2 separate regions of the Homo sapiens genome follow, and region 2 is linked to region 1. The links are contacts of gene promoters, found by promoter capture Hi-C in human tissues and cell types (Jung and others, 2019). All regions are on one chromosome and are shown on one strand. The core of a region is centred on a gene start or on the middle of the fragment in contact, and the rest is flanking DNA. Distances in the headings are between cores, read along the strand shown. Region 1 holds the start of XYLT1 (xylosyltransferase 1). Region 2 has its middle 470 kb from the start of NPIPA7.

Region 1 (6,616 bases), core at 3,007-5,506:
CCTTCCACTTTCTCTCACAGCCCCGAGCTCAGTGCTGGGCACACCTAGGAGCTGAAAACTACTGATTAACTGATTTACTCCCCCCTTCACTGGAAAATGGCGATGAAACAAGATTTGGGGTGGAGGTGGGGAGGGAATCCCACAGATCAGTCTGGGGCTTCTTCAGAGCTCTGGCTCTTGGTCAAGTGAGATTAGGAACGATATTTTAAGAGCAGAGTTCCTTAGGAAATCTTCTACACGCCTATAGTTTGCTTTCCCAGCATGACGTCCGGCACATAATAGGGTCCAATACATCTTTGTTGAATGACTGAATGAGCTTTAAAAATTCTAAGGACTCTCACTGCTGTTGCTAGGGCTGCCGCTGGAGTCTCAGGCGGTGCTTTCGGCTCTGTCTTATACATCAAGCTCTGCCTGTCTCGCTTTTACACCACAGTGGAAGCCAAAGCCGGGGCCCCTTCGAATGCAAAGTGGCTGCTTTTGCTTGGTTTGGCTTAGAAGACATGATGCCCGGCCCCTGCTCCCAGGGGTTCTGGCACTGCCCAAACCAACTGCGCCCCCTGGTACTGAGATACATGTGCACTGCAGATTCGTCAAAATTCACGCCCTTCTCCCACTCCAAGCCACCCGCTGTTCTGATCTCATCTTTGTCTCACCTCCTTACCCAAAGATTCTTGAGGTGCAGGAAGACAGCTCCAGTGACCCCAGAAGCTTGCCTTCCTATTCTTCGATCTCGGGTGATTTTTCATCCTAAAACCATCACATAAGCTGTTTATGGCGTCCATAACCCGCCTGGAGCCTTTAAACCTCTTTCTTGCATGGCTTTTTATAAGTCTGAGATAAACAAACAACTCTCTCTCCAGGGACTTGGAGCCCAGATCCTTAACCTCACTCCTTAAGCCCCTGGCCCCTGAGGGAGTGGAGCCAGAGGGTGGGCCCCAAAGGACTGTGGTTAAATGTGAGATGTGGAGGAAGCAGATAACATCATTGCTGCTAACGGGAAAAATGCGGCCAGAGACCTTGAAGCAAAGATGAGCCAGAGGGCAGGGTTGCCAAGAGGCTCCAGAGCAGCCTCTGCTGGGTTGAGAAGCTCTGCTGAGACACTAAGAGAGCGTTCTGGCAACATGTGAAATCTTGGGGGCTGTCTCCTCCAACCCCTCATTTGGCACTAAAGAAATCTAAGTCCTGGGAGGGGAGGTGGCTTGGCCAAGGTCATATAACCTCGGGAGGCTGCGTGGAATAAATGATGGAATCTGTTCCCTGCACCTACTTCTTTCCCATCAGACCCTGATCTCTATAGGGCATCCAAGTTGTTACAGGGAGGCTGGCTTCACCCCAATGGCGGAGGTGAAATATGGGATCTTGGCCAAGTTGATCGGCATTTTCTAACTTCCTGGCCACACTGATTGGTCTCGGAGTGACCCAGAACTTAAGACTGGTCTAATCAGAAAAAAAATCTCCGAACCTTTGAGGAAAATCCTGGGAAATACTGACCCTCCTTTCCCTGGGCTAGAAATGAACACAGGATACAAAGTAGTCGCAGCAGCTGAGGCCAGGCATCGTGTGACATCAAGAGGGAATAAGGTAGACTCCATGGAAAGCAGAGAGGAGAGATGGAAAGAAAAGGAATCCCAGGTGATAATTGTGAGTTGCTAGATCAAACCTCACCTGAAGCCTTTCCTCTGCAATGTTCAGCTACATGATCCAGTAAAGTATATTTTTAAGACAGACCGGGCTGGGCACAGTGGCTGATGCCTGTAATCCCAGCACTTTGGGAGGCTGAGGCAGGCAGATCACCTGAGGTCAGGAGTTTGAGATCAGCCTGGCCAACATGGTGAAACCTCGTCTGTACTAAAAAAAAAATTAGCTGGGCGTGGTGGCACATGCCTGTAATCCCAGCTACTCGGGAGGCTGAGGCATGAGAATTACTTGAACCCAAGAGGCAGAGGTTGGAGTGAGCTGAGATCACACCACTGCACTCCAGGCTGGGTGATGGAGTGAGACTGTGTCAAAAAAAAAAAAAAAAAAAAGACTTAAAAGATAGACTTAAGTCTTATTACTGTTAGTAATAGATGTTATTGCTTGTAAACAAAATATCCCCAACTGATAAACAGATGACTGGTGGCCCTAGAAACTTGCCTCTGGTCTTTTACTCCTGGTTAGGGGTGCTGGGCCCAAAGGGAAGGCCTCTATGCCAGGCTACATGCCTGGCTAAGCTTTAGATACAACTAAGGTTGATTGGTTTGGAGTTTACAACCCCCACTAGCATACATTTTATACTTTTCTTGTTCAGGCAAGTGGACTGGCTAATTACATGGGTTCAGAAAGCATTTTTTCTTGGCGCTTACTCCCGTCCTGCCCTCATGAACCCTTAGCATTTTTGCACATCTCTACAGCAATGCTTATCTCACCATATATATATATATAATATTATATATATTTACATATAAATATATATATTATATATATGTTATATATTATATATTATATATATTATATGTACATATATATAAATATATTATATATAATATATTTATTATATACATTATATATAATATATATATATACAATATATATATATTTATATATACGTTTTTTAGATGGAGTCTTGCTCTGTAACCCAGGCTGGAGTGCAGTGGTGTGATCTCGGCTCACTGCAGCCTCTGCCTCCTGGGTTCAAGAGATTCTCCTGCCTCAGCCTCCTGAGTAGCTGGGATCAGGGGTGTGTGCCACCATGCCCGGCTAATTTTTGTATTTTTAGTAGAGACGGGGTTTCACCATGTTGGCAAGGCTGATCTCGAACTTCTGACCTCAGGTGATCCTCCTGTCTTGGCCTCCCAAAGTGCTGCGATTACAGGCATGAGCCACCGCGCCCAGGCCTATCTCACTATATTTTAATGATTAACATCCACATCAGGCTTCTCTAGACCTCAGGCTTGCTGAAGATGAGATTAAACCTCATTCACCTTTGGATGCGTGCACCTGGCCCAGTGTCTGACACAAGCTTTGTATTCACGGATGCTTGTGGAGTGGATGAAACAATCTCTTCCCACTCCCTGCCTCATTGTCTGATGAGCCTTCATTACACTCCACTTTCTTCTCTTTGTAAATTAGGATGAGGTGAAAAAGCACAGCAGACAAGATGCGAAGCATTCACGCCAAGTCCTCAATTCACAAACTGATTTGATCTGCTGTTGTATTCCCAGAGTGCTAGGTCCCGTATGGGACACCAACGCCATCCCATATGCTCACTGTTCTGCGCTGCTGTGTATAAAGCCCTGGGCAAGAGGACAAGGGAGGGAAAAACCAGAAAGACTGAGTCAGAGAAGGCTCGGGATGAAATTTGAGTCCATTGGGATCATTCTGCCTAAACGACAGAGGAGAAAGCTTGGGCTCAGGGAGGAGTCCTCCTCCTCCTGGCTCAAGGTCACCGGGACAGACCAGTCAGGATGGGAAAGAACTCCACTTTCAAGAGCAAGACCTGTTTCCCCAGGACCTGGGCCCTGTGCAGACAGGAAGGGGGACTTCAGGATGGATGGGGAAAAGGACACGCTGGGAGGCTGCGGGGCCAGCCTTTGGGGCTTGCATCCTGCGAAGGTTGAGTAACTCCACGGGTCTCCCTTTTGCCGCTATACCACTTGCCAACTGGGTTTGGAGTCTCTTGGCTTGTGAGTCCTCAGGGACCAGAGAAGTGACTCAGTGAACACTTAGTACATCGTTGGCACCGGGGATTGTGTGTGATTCAGGAGTCACTCACAGAGCTTGTGCTGATTAACTCCAGAAACTCACCCAAAGCCTCCTCCCCACCCCTTCAAGCCCAGGATGAAGGGATCAGACTGTGGCTCTGACACTCCTGAAATGTTTCTCACGTGTCCACCTGCCAACCGGTCTGGTACCGACAGAAGATCCCTGGACCGCGAACTCCGGGGCTAGGAGCTTCCTCCACGCACTGCCTCCTTCCAGCGGCCCACAGGGAAAACAGGACCTCGGGACCCCCTCTCTTCCTGACCTCCCCTGGATTCTGAGCGGGCCCACCCTCAACCAAAGGTCCCCTGTTTCGCGGCCCCTGCCTCTCTTTTTCCGCCTTGGGAATTGTCCCCCTCGCCCCCCATCCTACTCCCACTACGTCCTGAGGGGTGTCTGTCTTCTCTGATCGCCCCCACCCCCTTCCTTTCCCTCCTCCTTTTCCTCCCTCGGCTCCTCCCCCAGGCCCCGCCCTCTCCGCCTCGGCCCGCGTCCCCCCGGCGCCTTCCCCATCACCCTCCCCTCCAGCGGGGACAGGGGTGTGGGGAGGGGGGCGGCGGCGGCGGCCCGAGCGGGAGCCCGAGCGGCAGCCGGCGGCCGCGGGAGCTGCGGGGAGCGCGGGGGCGGCCCGGAGCGTGCCGGGGTCCCCGCGCCTCGCTCGCCGGCCGCGCTCCGAAGATGGTGGCGGCGCCGTGCGCCCGGAGGCTGGCCCGGCGCTCGCACTCGGCGCTGCTCGCGGCGCTCACGGTGCTGCTGCTGCAGACGCTGGTCGTGTGGAATTTCAGCAGCCTCGACTCCGGGGCCGGGGAGCGCCGCGGGGGCGCAGCGGTCGGCGGCGGGGAGCAGCCGCCCCCGGCCCCGGCCCCGCGCCGGGAGCGCCGGGACCTGCCCGCCGAGCCGGCTGCAGCCCGAGGAGGAGGAGGAGGCGGCGGCGGAGGAGGAGGAGGACGGGGGCCCCAGGCGCGGGCGCGGGGAGGCGGCCCCGGAGAACCGCGGGGACAGCAGCCGGCCAGCCGGGGGGCACTGCCCGCCCGGGCTCTGGTAAGATGCCCTTTCGGCTCGCGCCCCGCGGCGAGGGAGGGAGGAAGGCAGCCCGACCCCACGCCCCCCTAGCCCTTGAACTCGGTCATCAGACTGGGACTCTGCAAGCCTACCGACTCCACATCGCCTCTTGCCCCGGGAAGCCGGGTGGGGTCCCTGCCAAGGCTCAGGGGTCGTGGGCTGCCCCTTTCAGAGTCTGAGCACGGACCCCTTGGGGTCTGGGGGAAGTTTTCTCCAGCGGGGGCGCTTTGGGGGTTACCGGAGCCTGGCTGGGTTCCTGTTCCCCATCACTCTTGCTGGGGACCCCAGGTGACTTGCTCCGTGCGTGTAGGTCTTGGTGACTCGCTCCCTGCCTGAGTGAGTGGATCTCCCCGGATCCTCAGCCGCTGTTCCTGGGCGGTTGTCGCAGCAGCATCTCTCTGGTTTTTGCCGAGCTGGGTGCAGACAGTTGAGCCCTCTGTTCGTCCTGGCCTGCGATGAGGGCTGAGCTGGGCGTCCCAAGTCCCCGACCATGCCCCTGAATCAATACTCAGTCCGGGGTGTCTGGTCTTACTTTGGGTCTTCTGTTTCTCTTCTCTGGATGTTTGAGCCTTCCGTCTTCACCTTCTCTGTCTCTAACCTTGCCGTCTCCCATGCCCTCTGTGACTTTATCTCCTCCCCATCTCCAGTTTCAGGGCATGGCTCCTTCTCCTAGCTGGTTGTCTCTGTCTTTCTGTCTTGTTGCGGCCGGTTCAGGTCACCAGCTGTGTGTCCGACCACACCGTCAGGGCTTCCACTCCTATGGGATTACTTTGCCCTTCGTGGGTGTGAACAGTCAGGGCTCTGAAACTGTTTTTTCCGCAGATCTGGGGCCATCTGGGTGGCTGGGTGGGGAACTGACTTGTCTTCCTACCCTGTCCCTAACTTCTCCAGGGATACCTTTCCCACCTTCTCTGGGCTGCCTTGCCCAGCCTACTGAGCTAGGAGCAGGAGCACATGGGGCAGGAGGCCGGAGTCCCCATTTCAGAGCCAAGGTCTCAGTTCTCCAGGGGCGTGAGTTCTGCCTTAGGGCATAGCCAATGTGTTGTGTGTCTGTCTGTTTCTTCATCACACTACTTGTCTGCAAGGATTTGCCTAGCCGTTAAAGGATATTAGACACCAGGGGGATGGTTTCAGGATCCTGAAGACTGAATGCATATTTCTATCATTTGTCACTTTGGAAGTCCTCACTGAAGACTGCCTTAGTACACAGCGTGATGCTTTCTGAGCTGCTAAACTTCTTCGGAGTCTGTGCGACCCTTTCTGCCGGAGTGCAGCTCTTCATGCCTGAGAACTGAGCCAGTCCCAAGACGTGATGTGATGGCATTTCACGTTGCTGTGTGGGTAGCAGGGAGAAGTCTTTCCCTCATTTGCGGGGAGAATAGTGGCGTGAGCTGCCTGACGGAGAACCAGAACATTCCTAGTGTCCTGCGATCTCTTCTTTACAGAGAGGGGTACTCTGAAACGCTGCCTTTGAACTCTTGGAGTTGATAGTGATGGGTTCCCGCAGAAATGCAATTAGAAGTTCTTTGTGCATCCAGAGCCCAGGAGGTGGGGTGGGAGGGTTGTGGGTCGTGTCCTGCTGGTCCAGTGTAAGAACGTGTAGGGGAGACATGGTGGGGGAAGCCTGGGGCTTACTGTATCATTTGCATCTGGGGGTCAGAGTGGGTTCAGGAGGTACCTTTAGGATGCATGTAGCACCTGTTGAAACAAATGAAGAGAAGGAAGGAGGCAGGGCTAGCTGATTTCTTCATAGGTCCCCGGCATTGTGAGCATCCACCCCCAGCCCCTCTCTGTGTGCTCGGCTCAGTGTTTT
Region 2 (6,616 bases), core at 1,246-3,745, 630 kb after region 1:
ATGAAAAAATGCTCATCATCACTGGCCATCAGAGAAATGCAAATTAAAACCACAATGAGATACCATCTCACACCAGTTAGAATGGCCATCATTAAAAAGTCAGGAAACAACAGATGCTGGAGAGGATGTGGAGAAATAGGAATACTTTTACACTGTTGGGAGTGTAAACTAGTTCAACCATTGTGGAAGACAGTGTGGTGATTCCTCAAGGATCTAGAACTAGAAATACCACTTGACCCAGCCATCCCATTACTGGGTATATACCTAAAGGATTATAAATCATGCTACTATAAACACACATGCACACGTATGTTTATTGCGGCACTATTCACAATAGCAAAGACTTGGAACCAACCCAAATGTCCATCAATAATAGACTGTATTAAGAAAATGTGGCATATAAACACCATGGAATACTATGCAGCCATAAAAAAGGATGAGTTCATGTCCTTTGTAGGGACATGGATGAAGCTGGAAACCATCATTCTGAGCAAACTATCACAAGGACAGAAAACCAAACACTGCATGTTCTCACTCATAGGTGGGAATTGAACAATGAGAACACTTGAACACAGGGCGGGGAACACCACACACTGGGGCCTGTCATGGGGTGGGGGGATGGGGGAGGGATAGCATTAGGAGAAATACCTAATGTAAATGACGAATTAATGGGTGCAGCAAACCAACATGGCACATGTATTACCTATGTAACAAACCTGCACATTGTGCACATATACCCTAGAACTTAAAGTATAATAATTAAAAATAAATAAATAAAAATGTTTTAAGTTATGCCCTTTCACAGTCTATAAGGATACTTTTCTGAGAGAAAGAAATACGAAAGACTCTTCTATATAAGAAAAGATGCTAGCTTACTCACAAAGGAGAAATGCCACTTAAAACCATAATGAGGCCATTTCTGCCTTATCAGAGTGCCAAGAATTGTAAAGTTTGATCATACCCTGTGTAGGAGGACAAAGCTCTTTTATACATTATTGATTGAGGAACAAATTGGTATGATCTCTGTGATGAGAAATTTGTCGATAGCTATCAGAATTATAAAAGCACATAACTTTTGACCCAGCAAATTCCCTTCTAGAAATTTATTCTACAGTATAACTGCATAGGAGCAAAATGACTGTATTGCTCAAGGTTCTCCAGAGGAAGAGAATCAATACAGTATATATAGGCAAAGATTTATTATGGGAATTAGCTTACATGATTGTGGTGGCCCAGAGGTCCCATGATCTGCCATCTGCAAGCTGAAGAACCCAGGAAGCCAGTGATGTCATTCAGTCCAAGTCCAAAGACCAAGAACTGGGGAGGCCACTGGTGTAAGTCCCAGAGCCTGTAGCCCTGAGAACCAGGAGCTCCAGTCTCCAAGGGTGGGAGATGAATGTAGCAGCTCAACAAGACAGAGAACTCACCCTTTTTCCGCCTTTTTCTTCTATCTGGGCCTTCAGCGGATTACGCCATGCCCACCCACATTGCTGAGGGCCATCTTCTTTACTCAGTCTGCTGATGCAAACACTAATCTCTTTTGGAAATGTTTTAGCAGATATACTGCAAAACAATGTTTGACCAGCTATCTAGGCATCCCTTAGCCCAGTTAACAAATAAAATTAACCATCACAATGACGTATGCACAGTGCTATTCATTGCAGCATTGCTAATATTGAAGCATTGCTAATATAAAAGCAAAAGAAATAAAGTAACTTAAATTTACATCAAAATGGTCTACACTTAAATAATCCCTATAGCGGATTTTAAGTTATCCGTGCAGTGGACTATTATGTAGCAGTGGAAAAGAATTAAGCTTGAAGATGGCCGAATAGGAACAGCTCCGGTCTACAGCTCCCAGCGTGAGCGACGCAGAAGACGGGTGATTTCTGCATTTCCATCTGAGGTACCGGGTTCATCTCACTAGGGAGTGCCAGACAGTGGGCGCAGGCCAGTGTGTGTGCGCACCGTGCGCGAGCCGAAGCAGGGCGAGGCATTGCCTCACCTGGGAAGCGCAAGGGGTCAGGGAGTTCCCTTTCCGAGTCAAAGAAAGGGGTGATGGATGCACCTGGAAAATCGGGTCACTCCCACCCGAATATTGCGCTTTTCAGACCGGCTTAAGAAACGGCGCACCACGAGACTATATCCCACACCTGGCTCAGAGGGTCCTACGCCCACGGAATCTCGCTGATTGCTAGCACAGCAGTCTGAGATCAAACTGCAAGGCGGCAACGAGGCTGGGGGAGGGGCGCCCGCCATTGCCCAGGCTTGCTTAGGTAAACAAAGCAGCCGGGAAGCTCGAACTGGGTGGAGCCCACCACAGCTCAAGGAGGCCTGCCTGCCTCTGTAGGCTCCACCTCTGGGGGCAGGGCACAGACAAACAAAAAGGCAGCAGTAACCTCTGCAGACTTAAGTGTCCCTGTCTGACAGCTTTGAAGAGAGCAGTGGTTCTCCCAGCACGCAGCTGGAGATCTGAGAACGGGCAGACTGCCTCCTCAAGTGGGTCCCTGACCCCTGACCCCCGAGCAGCCTAACTGGGAGGCACCCCCCAGCAGGGGCACACTGACACCTCACATGGCAGGGTATTCCAACAGACCTGCAGCTGAGGGTCCTGTCTGTTAGAAGGAAAACTAACAACCAGAAAGGACATCTACACCGAAAACCCATCTGTACATCACCATCATCAAAGACCAAAAGTAGATAAAACCACAAAGATGGGGAAAAAACAGAACAGAAAAACTGGAAACTCTAAAACGCAGAGCGCCTCTCCTCCTCCAAAGGAACGCAGTTCCTCACCAGCAACAGAACAAAGCTGGATGGAGAATGATTTTGACGAGCTGAGAGAAGAAGGCTTCAGACGATCAAATTACTCTGAGCTACGGGAGGACATTCAAACCAAAGGCAAAGAAGTTGAAAACTTTGAAAAAAATCTAGAAGAATGTATAACTAGAATAACCAATACAGAGAAGTGCTTAAAGGAGCTGATGGAGCTGAAAACCAAGGCTCGAGAACTACGTGAAGAATGCAGAAGCCTCAGGAGCCGATGCGATCAACTGGAAGAAAGGGTATCAGCAATGGAAGATGAAATGAATGAAATGAAGCGAGAAGGGAAGTTTAGAGAAAAAAGAATAAAAAGAAATGAGCAAAGCCTCCAAGAAATATGGGACTATGTGAAAAGACCAAATCTACGTCTGATTGGTGTACCTGAAAGTGATGTGGAGAATGGAACCAAGTTGGAAAACACTCTGCAGGATATTATCCAGGAGAACTTCCCCAATCTAGCAAGGCAGGCCGACATTCAGATTCAGGAAATACAGAGAACGCCACAAAGATACTCCTCGAGAAGAGCAACTCCAAGACACATAATTGTCAGATTCACCAAAGTTGAAATGAAGGAAAAAATGTTAAGGGCAGCCAGAGAGAAAGGTCGGGTTACCCTCAAAGGGAAGCCTATCAGACTAACAGCAGATCTCTCGGCAGAAACCCTACAAGCCAGAAGAGAGTGGGGGCCAATATTCAACATTCTTAAAGAAAAGAATTTTCAACCCAGAATTTCATATCCAGCCAAACTAAGCTTCATAAGTGAAGGAGAAAGAAAATACTTTACAGACAAGCAAATGCTGAGAGATTTTGTCACCACCAGGCCTACCCTAAAAGAGCTCCTGAAGGAAGCACTAAACATGGAAAGGAACAACCGGTACCAGCCGCTGCAAAATCATGCCAAAATGTAAAGACCATCGAGACTAGGAAGAAACTGCATCAACTAATGAGCAAAATCACCAGCTAACATCATAATGACAGGATCAAATTCACACATAACAATATTAACTTTAAATATAAATGGACTAAATTCTGCAATTAAAAGACACAGACTGGCAAGTTGGATAAAGAGTCAAGACCCATCAGTGTGCTGTATTCAGGAAACCCATCTCACGTGCAGAGACACACATAGGCTCAAAATAAAAGGATGGAGGAAGATCTACCAAGCAAATGGAAAACAAAAAAAGGCAGGGGTTGCAATCCTAGTCTCTGATAAAACAGACTTTAAACCAACAAAGATCAAAAGAGACAAAGAAGGCCATTACATAATGGTAAAGGGATCAATTCAACAAGAGGAGCTAACTATCCTAAATATTTATGCACCCAATACAGGAGCACCCAGATTCATAAAGCAAGTCCTGAGTGACCTACAAAGAGACTTAGACTCCCACACATTAATAATGGGAGACTTTAACACCCCACTGTCAATATTAGACAGATCAACGAGACAGAAAGTCAACAAGGATACCCAGGAATTGAACTCAGCTCTGCACCAAGCAGACCTAATAGACATCTACAGAACTCTCCACCCCAAATCAACAGAATATACATTTTTTTCAGCACCACACCACACCTATTCCAAAATTGACCACATAGTTGGAAGTAAAGCTCTCCTCAGCAAATGTAAAAGAACAGAAATTATAACAAACTATCTCTCAGACCACAGTGCAATCAAACTAGAACTCAGGATTAAGAATCTCACTCAAAGCCGCTCAACTACATGGAAACTGAACAACCTGCTCCTGAATGACTACTGGGTACATAACGAAATGAAGGCAGAAATAAAGATGTTCTTTGAAACCAACGAGAACAAAGACACCACATACCAGAATCTCTGGGACGCATTCAAAGCAGTGTGTAGAGGGAAATTTATAGCACTAAATGCCTACAAGAGAAAGCAGGAAAGATCCAAAATTGACACCCTAACATCACAATTAAAAGAACTAGAAAAGCAAGAGCAAACACATTCAAAAGCTAGCAGAAGGCAAGAAATAACTAAAATCAGAGCAGAACTGAAGGAAATAGAGACACAAAAAACCCTTCAAAAAATCAATGAATCCAGGAGCTGGTTTTTTGAAAGGATCAACAAAATTGATAGACCGCTAGCAAGACTAATAAAGAAAAAAAGAGAGAAGAATCAAATAGACACAATAAAAAATGATAAAGGGGATATCACCACCGATCCCACAGAAATACAAACTACCATCAGAGAATACTACAAACACCTCTACGCAAATAAACTAGAAAATCTAGAAGAAATGGATACATTCCTCGACACATACACTCTCCCAAGACTAAACCAGGAAGAAGTTGAATCTCTGAATAGACCAATAACAGGCTCTGAAATTGTGGCAATAATCAATAGTTTACCAACCAAAAAGAGTCCAGGACCAGATGGATTCACAGCCGAATTCTACCAGAGGTACAAGGAGGAACTGGTACCATTCCTTCTGAAACTATTCCAATCAATAGAAAAAGAGGGAATCCTCCCTAACTCATTTTATGAGGCCAGCATCATTCTGATACCAAAGCCGGGCAGAGACACAACCAAAAAAGAGAATTTTAGACCAATATCCTTGATGAACATTGATGCAAAAATCCTCAATAAAATACTGGCAAACCGAATCCAGCAGCACATCAAAAAGCTTATCCACCATGATCAAGTGGGCTTCATCCCTGGGATGCAAGGCTGGTTCAATATACGCAAATCAATAAATGTAATCCAGCATATAAACAGAGCCAAAGACAAAAACCACATGATTATCTCAATAGATGCAGAAAAAGCCTTTGACAAAATTCAACAACCCTTCATGCTAAAAACTCTCAATAAATTAGGTATTGATGGGACGTATTTCAAAATAATAAGAGCTATCTATGACAAACCCACAGCCAATATCATACTGAATGGGCAAAAACTGGAAGCATTCCCTTTGAAAACTGGCACAAGACAGGGATGCCCTCTCTCACCGCTCCTATTCAACATAGTGTTGGAAGTTCTGGCCAGGGCAATCAGGCAGGAGAAGGAAATAAAGGGTATTCAATTAGGAAAAGAGGAAGTCAAATTGTCCCTGTTTGCAGACGACATGATTGTTTATCTAGAAAACCCCATCACCTCAGCCCAAAATCTCCTTAAGCTGATAAGCAACTTCAGCAAAGTCTCAGGATACAAAATCAATGTACAAAAATCACAAGCATTCTTATACACCAACAACAGACAAACAGAGAGCCAAATCATGGGTGAACTCCCATTCACAATTGCTTCAAAGAGAATAAAATACCTAGGAATCCAACTTACAAGGGATGTGAAGGACCTCTTCAAGGAGAACTACAAACCACTGCTCAAGGAAATAAAAGAGGACACAAACAAATGGAAGAACATTCCATGCTCATGGGTAGGAAGAATCAATATCGTGAAAATGGCCATACTGCCCAAGGTAATTTACAGATTCAATGCCATCCCCATCAAGCTACCAATGACTTTCTTCACAGAATTGGAAAAAACTACTTTAAAGTTCATATGGAACCAAAAAAGAGCCCGCATTGCCAAGTCAATCCTAAGCCAAAAGAACAAAGCTGGAGGCATCACACTACCTGACTTCAAACTATACTACAAGGCTACAGTAACCAAAACAGCATGGTACTGGTACCAAAACAGAGATATAGATCAATGGAACAGAACAGAGCCCTCAGAAATAATGCCACATATCTACAACTATCTGATCTTTGACAAACCTGAGAAAAACAAGCAATGGGGAAAGGATTCCCTATTTAATAAATGGTGCTGGGAAAACTGGCT

What was found. The method cuts DNA at HindIII sites, captures the fragments that hold promoters and counts their contacts. A contact is called where the count stands out against the background at its distance.
Region 2: a fragment that was not itself captured here is called in contact with the fragment with the promoter of XYLT1 in region 1 in 1 of the 25 tissues and cell types used here (lymphoblastoid cells).

Annotation. Positions count from the first base shown.
Region 1 is chr16:17,468,600-17,475,215 of GRCh38, reverse strand. XYLT1 (xylosyltransferase 1) reads left to right here and starts at 4,256. Exons shown (of 12, transcript NM_022166.4): 1 at 4,256-4,782. The coding sequence starts at 4,420. It overlaps LOC107987234 (a long non-coding RNA gene), which reads left to right and starts at 4,789. Exons shown (of 2, transcript XR_001752091.2): 1 at 4,789-6,616. It overlaps LOC105371106 (a long non-coding RNA gene), which reads left to right. Exons shown (of 3, transcript XR_933144.3): 3 at 3,112-4,209. RefSeq lists enhancers at 3,761-4,262, 5,037-5,086, 5,207-5,476. The HindIII fragment of the contact is 9,248 bases long and covers 3,194-6,616 here.
Region 2 is chr16:16,841,761-16,848,376 of GRCh38, reverse strand. No RefSeq gene overlaps it. Among named protein-coding and RNA genes, the nearest start is that of NPIPA7, 470 kb to the right of the region's middle. The HindIII fragment of the contact is 4,050 bases long and covers 471-4,520 here.